Regions from separate parts of the Homo sapiens genome. Here region 1 is linked to region 2. The links are contacts of gene promoters, found by promoter capture Hi-C in blood cells and fetal thymus (Javierre and others, 2016). All regions are on one chromosome and are shown on one strand. The core of a region is centred on a gene start or on the middle of the fragment in contact, and the rest is flanking DNA. Distances in the headings are between cores, read along the strand shown. Region 1 holds the start of BIRC6 (baculoviral IAP repeat containing 6). Region 2 overlaps YPEL5 (yippee like 5).

The links. The method cuts DNA at HindIII sites, captures the fragments that hold promoters and counts their contacts. A CHiCAGO score of 5 or more calls a contact.
Region 1: the fragment with the promoter of BIRC6 here is called in contact with a fragment that was not itself captured in region 2 in 2 of 17 cell types (fetal thymus and non-activated CD4 T cells); the score reaches 6.3 in fetal thymus.

What each region holds. Positions count from the first base shown.
Region 1 is chr2:32,355,660-32,358,359 of GRCh38, forward strand. BIRC6 (baculoviral IAP repeat containing 6) reads left to right here and starts at 1,364. Exons shown (of 74, transcript NM_016252.4): 1 at 1,364-1,827. The coding sequence starts at 1,503. RefSeq lists enhancers at 1,035-1,547, 2,062-2,574 and silencers at 1,051-1,420, 1,581-1,810. The HindIII fragment of the contact is 6,861 bases long and covers 855-2,700 here.
Region 2 is chr2:30,148,669-30,151,383 of GRCh38, forward strand. The region is part of intron 1 of YPEL5 (yippee like 5); the gene reads left to right. Among named protein-coding and RNA genes, the nearest start is that of YPEL5, 3.0 kb to the left of the region's middle. The HindIII fragment of the contact is 2,989 bases long and covers 1-2,715 here.

The DNA of each region.
Region 1 (2,700 bases), core at 114-2,613, 2.2 Mb after region 2:
AAAAAAAAAAAAAAGAACCACAGATGAGTAAGGAATGTCACTCTCTGGCAGGCCCAGGAACTTCAGTGTATTTTAGGGACCCCCAAGAAGAGAGGAATACAGTCAAATCTCTAAGTGTTTCAGATGTAGCCTGATGGCTAATAGTTTAAGATGTAGTTCAGGTAATCCATGAAGATTTCCTGAAGGAAGTTCGCATGAATGTGAGAGGGCAATTAACTTTTATAATTTTTATTGAGCACGTAGTATATACTTGTCAGATGCTCTTCTACACATTTTACAAATGATTCTTAATCCTCACAACAGATCTTTGATTAGGTTTTTAAGGAAAACTAGTTCTTTCCAAAATAACCTAATGATCACAAAACATATAGAACATACAACTCTGCATCTTGACTATGGTGCGTAGGTCTACATGTGATAAAATGACATTGAACTATACACACATCATACAACTATCAAATCCCTCCTTTTGAGATTGTACTAGAATTATGTAATATGCAACCATTGGGGGAAACTGGGTAAAGAGTAAATTGGATCTCTCTGTACTATCTTTGAGTAGTGTTTAGGTATTTTATAAAAATAATGTCCTACAGTTTGGGTTTGTCAAATGGTTTTCTCATAGTTAGATAGGGGTTATGGCTTTTGGAGAGAAAGACCACAGAGGTCTGTAGTATATTTTCAACTGTAATCTATTTCAAAATAAAAAGTTTTAAAAAAATTCTCCAAGGGGGGATGATTAGTAAATTGATTAGTCCTTTCTAGACCTCCAACACACCCCACCACACACTCACACAGACCCACACTCCTATTAATTCCGGTAACTCGGGTTGTTTGGAATGTGGATAGAGAAACTAAGCTTAACTATGCGCTTCCAGCACCTCGTATCTGGTACTTCTGTTCAACAGAAAGCCTTGGGAATGGGGAGGGCAGGCGTGGTAAAAGGTACAGGTTTGGGAAGGTCGCTCGGTTCCTTCCAATCCAAACGAGAGGCTTCTGATTGTTTATTCTCACACCAGAGCCGTGACCGAGACCCAGAGGTCCGCTTCCGGCCACGGCCGAACAGCTGCACCGTGCGTACCGGGAACGGTCAAGGCGCAGCTGGAACCGCTGCAAAAGGCCTCCGGGCGTACCGGACAGGTCGCAAGGGCGGGGGTCCCCACCTAGCGGAAATGCACGGAGGCCAACCCCTCCCCCTGCCCCCGCGAGGAGCGGGGCGGACTCGGCAGCCGCCACTCCCCAGGCTCACAGGAAGAAACTGGGACGCTGCGGACGCGGAACTGGCCAGACCCGCGGCGCGTGGCACGCGCGAGCCCTCCCGCGCATGCTCCACCCGCCGGCCTCCAGCCCGCGCCCCGGGCCCCGCCTCCCTCCCTGCTTCTCCCCCTCTCCCGTCAGCCTCCCTCCGAGTTTGGCCCCTCCGGCCGGGCGATCGACGTTCCGCGTGCGTGCGGGCGCCTGACTTCACTTCCGGCTAACGCGCTCGGCTTGCCCCCTGGCCCCGGATGGTGACTGGTGGTGGTGCTGCACCTCCCGGGACTGTCACTGAGCCGCTTCCCAGTGTGATTGTGCTGAGCGCAGGCCGGAAGATGGCGGCTGCGGCTGCGGCGGCCTCGGGCCCCGGCTGCTCCTCGGCGGCGGGGGCGGGGGCGGCCGGGGTCTCAGAGTGGCTGGTGCTGCGGGACGGCTGCATGCACTGCGACGCCGACGGGCTGCACAGCCTGTCCTACCACCCTGCGCTCAACGCCATCCTGGCCGTCACTAGCCGCGGGACCATCAAAGTCATCGACGGCACCTCGGGGGCCACACTGCAGGCCTCCGCGCTCAGTGGTGAGTCTTCCGCACGCCGGGCGGGCGCGAAGCCGGGGAAAGAAGCCGTCCAGCCCCGGGGCTCGGCCTCGCGACTCGGGGAAGCGAGATGGCGAGAGGGCAGGGCTGGGGGTTCGGGCCCAGCCGTGAAGGGAGGCCCGGAAGCTGATGGAGGGGGACCTTAGGACTTGGCTTTTTCAGCGGCTGCAGTTGGGAGGAAAGACCGGCGAGTCAGGGAGTGGTGGGAGGGGAGTTGCCTTTCGGGCCTGGAGCGTCCGGTCTGGCTTGGTCCTCCGCGAGAGGTGAGGAGACCTTGGAGCTTGGCACCGGAGGAAGCGAGGCCCGGGTAGGCCCTGGAGAGGCTGTCGGTCCTGCGTCCGGTTAGATGAGAGCGAAAGGCTGGAAGGGTTGACCCCGGGCGGAGAGGCTGGTGGCCGGAGGCGAGGGGCGGGGAGCGTCTGAGCCGGCAACCAAGCCCTCCCTTGTGGGAGAGGAGCCGGCAGTCTGCTGTTCTCAGGTCCCGCAGTGCGGGGGACAGACCGCGGGCTGTGCGCCCAGCGTGGGGGTGGGGGTGGGGTGGGGGTGGGGTGGGTCGTGGTGGGGGTGGGGAGGGAAGTAGGCGGGCCAGCTGCCTGAACTGCTTGGTCGACGACTGTAGGACTCTGCGGACGCCGAAGACGACTAGACCTGGTCCCCTTGCTCGGGGCTTCCAACTTCTACGCCCCAGTGACGAGAAAGTCAGGACCTGTGGTGTATGAAATAGATTCCTTTGGGTTTGTAACTTCAGGCTGTCTCTACTTGTTTTCCCACAGCGAGCCGAAAATTAGGATTTGAAGGTGTGTCTGAGTCTCACCATTGGAGGAGAGCACTTCTGGGTGGCGTAAACCTTGGTCC
Region 2 (2,715 bases), core at 160-2,659:
GGAAAATAATGTTACCTGGTTGGATCATTGCGAACTTTTCTCTAGACTAATTTCCCTTTTCTGTTTTCTATTTAAGTAATGAGAAAAATAAACAGGTTTAGAAAAAAGTGAAAGGAAATAAGGCCAAAAATTATGAAAAGAAGTAATTAAAGCAGCTACTACCCTCTGAAAAACAGTCCACGAGACATGAAGGTAGTCCTAGGTATATGTGTGCCTAAAATATCATTCTAGGTTTAATGGTGAATAACTATAGAGATCAGTGTCAGTTTTAAGATAATCCTGTGTAGTAATGTCAGTGTAATGCAGGAACTGAACCTTAGCTAGACCTGAAGTTGCTACTTGACACTTGAGTCGGGAAGCCAGACAGGTAAATTACACGTCAATCCATCTAGTTAGAGGCTTTTGGTATTGCATCACAACAAACGAGACCATGAAATTGTCTTGCTAGGGTTTAGCGGGGGATGACCAACTCAGATTGTGCACTAACACACAAGGTTTCCTGAGTGAAATGACTAGTCTTATTTTCTAATATTTAAATATAAGTGTTATTGAAATATAGTGAACTTGAAAGTCATCTAACAAAACAGGAAAAAATAAGGCATTATTGAGGGGGGAGAACAAAAATATATCCTTAAAACGTACTGCAAATGAAGACCTGATTCCACAACAGGACATCATTTGACACAGCAAAGTAAACTGGTCACGTACTGCAAGAGGAAAGCAGAGCTTGCTTGTGTCACTGAAAACTTAGCTTGTTATATATTTTGCACAAAAATTGGAAAGTTGATTGTATGGATCAAACTGTTTTCCCATGTAGATTTTTTAATAGCGTTTAGTCACAACTCAGTATAAAGAGTTGATGAAATTACAATAGCAGTAAGTGCTGATTATTATAGTAATCAACCCAGCACTCTTAAAAGTTATTTGGGTTTTTATCCTTTGTTTTGGCGAGGGAAGAGATTAAAAACGAGATAGGAAAGCTGGCTTCCACGGGATTCCATTTTAGCAGAGTCATTGCGAAACAAAACCACCTCTGCAAGGGGCAGGTTCCTTTAACCCTTTCTGCGCTAGATGCCTGCATACTCAGTTCCCTGCAGCAGTCTTTGTACCTTGCCTTTGTCCCATCTTCTGATGCAATGGAAAACCCACTGTGGTCTGTCCAACACTGGGGATCTGGTGAAGTGTGTATTCTATGGAAATGCCCTGAGGCGATGGTTTCATTTACTAAGGAAAAGTTTATCTGTGAACTGGGTGTTTTTCCGTCAGAAGGTTCTATGAGATGCGAATAGATACCTACCCTCCCTGGTATTTTTAGGGCTGGGAAGTGGTGCCTCCCTTGACTAATTCCACTTACCAGGGTTGAAACCAAACTGGATTATTAATTATAGGGACAACAAGTACCTATTTTAAGACCCAGAACTGTGACATGCTTCAGAAGGTTTCTAACTTTCCTCCAGCTTCTGATTTCTATCACCTGGTTGCTTAGCTTTAGCATAATTAGCAGGAAGTGAAGCCAGTTAATTGTTATTGTTTCATATCCTTTGTGAGCCATGCTTTTCTCATCTGTCATAGGGTGAGTTGGGATGGGGAATGTTGAAGAAGATAATCTAGTTTTACTGACCTTTATTGAGCATTCACTGTGTGCTAGGCACCGTTCTCAGAATACAGTATCTCCACTTAATTTCTCATAACTCAGAGGTGGCTGCTGCTCTCACCATTTTACAGATGAAACAGGAGAGGATAACTCACCCAGTGTTTCCAAAGCTATTAAGGGGGAAGAGCTGAGATTTGAACCTAGGAATCTCCAGAATTCAAGTATCTGAGCTCCACAGTTTAAGTCCTGGGGGTGGAGAGAGGAGAGAGCAGCTGGTAGATATTATCTATTTTTATAATCTTTATTAGAGTTGATCTTCAACATGCTGAACTGGTTACGGAAAGTTAAGGATTTTAGCTAGAAAATCAGTAAAGAAAAGGGGAATGGGATTAAACTGATCTTTTCAAATACTCCTATCTAGCTTTAATCCCAAATGCCAACCAAGTTTCCATTTTTTCTGGGAAAGACTGCTTTCTAAATGCAAAGCTCTTTCACTATCAGAATGTGTTTTTAAGCAGGGAAAACTTTTTTTTGGTAAAGGGCCAGGTAAAAAATATTTTAAACTTTGCAAGCCAGAAGGTTTCTGTAGCAGCTCCTCATACCTCTTCATTGTAAAGTGGAAGGAGTAAAGTGTAAACAAATGGGCGTGGCTGTGTTCCTAAAAACTTTGACACTCAAGTGTGAATGTCATATATCTTGTGTCAGAAAATATTCTCCCCTCCCCCCAACCATTTAAAAGTACAAAATTCATTCTCAGCTTGTGGGCAGTACAGAAACAGGTGGCGAGCTGAATTGACCCACAGCCTTCCCAGCTTTTAAGGAAAACAGTCAGCAATGAGCCAGACAAGTGAACAAGATACCGTATTTCGCTTGATAGTGTATGTGTAAAATAAACCAATAGTCTTTTTAGAAAATTGTTTTATTGATGTGGAAGCAAACTAGGAAATTATGTAGTCCATCATATCCATCATGCATTTTAAAATAATGCATTCCTGGAGACTCTTTGGCTCTGAAGAGAATCATCTTTTTTTTTCCCCTCTTACAGATTCTGTAATTAAAAAAAAAAATTCTGTAACAAGGCAGAGATCCTAAAATGTTATTAATATTTCACCAGAGTCTTC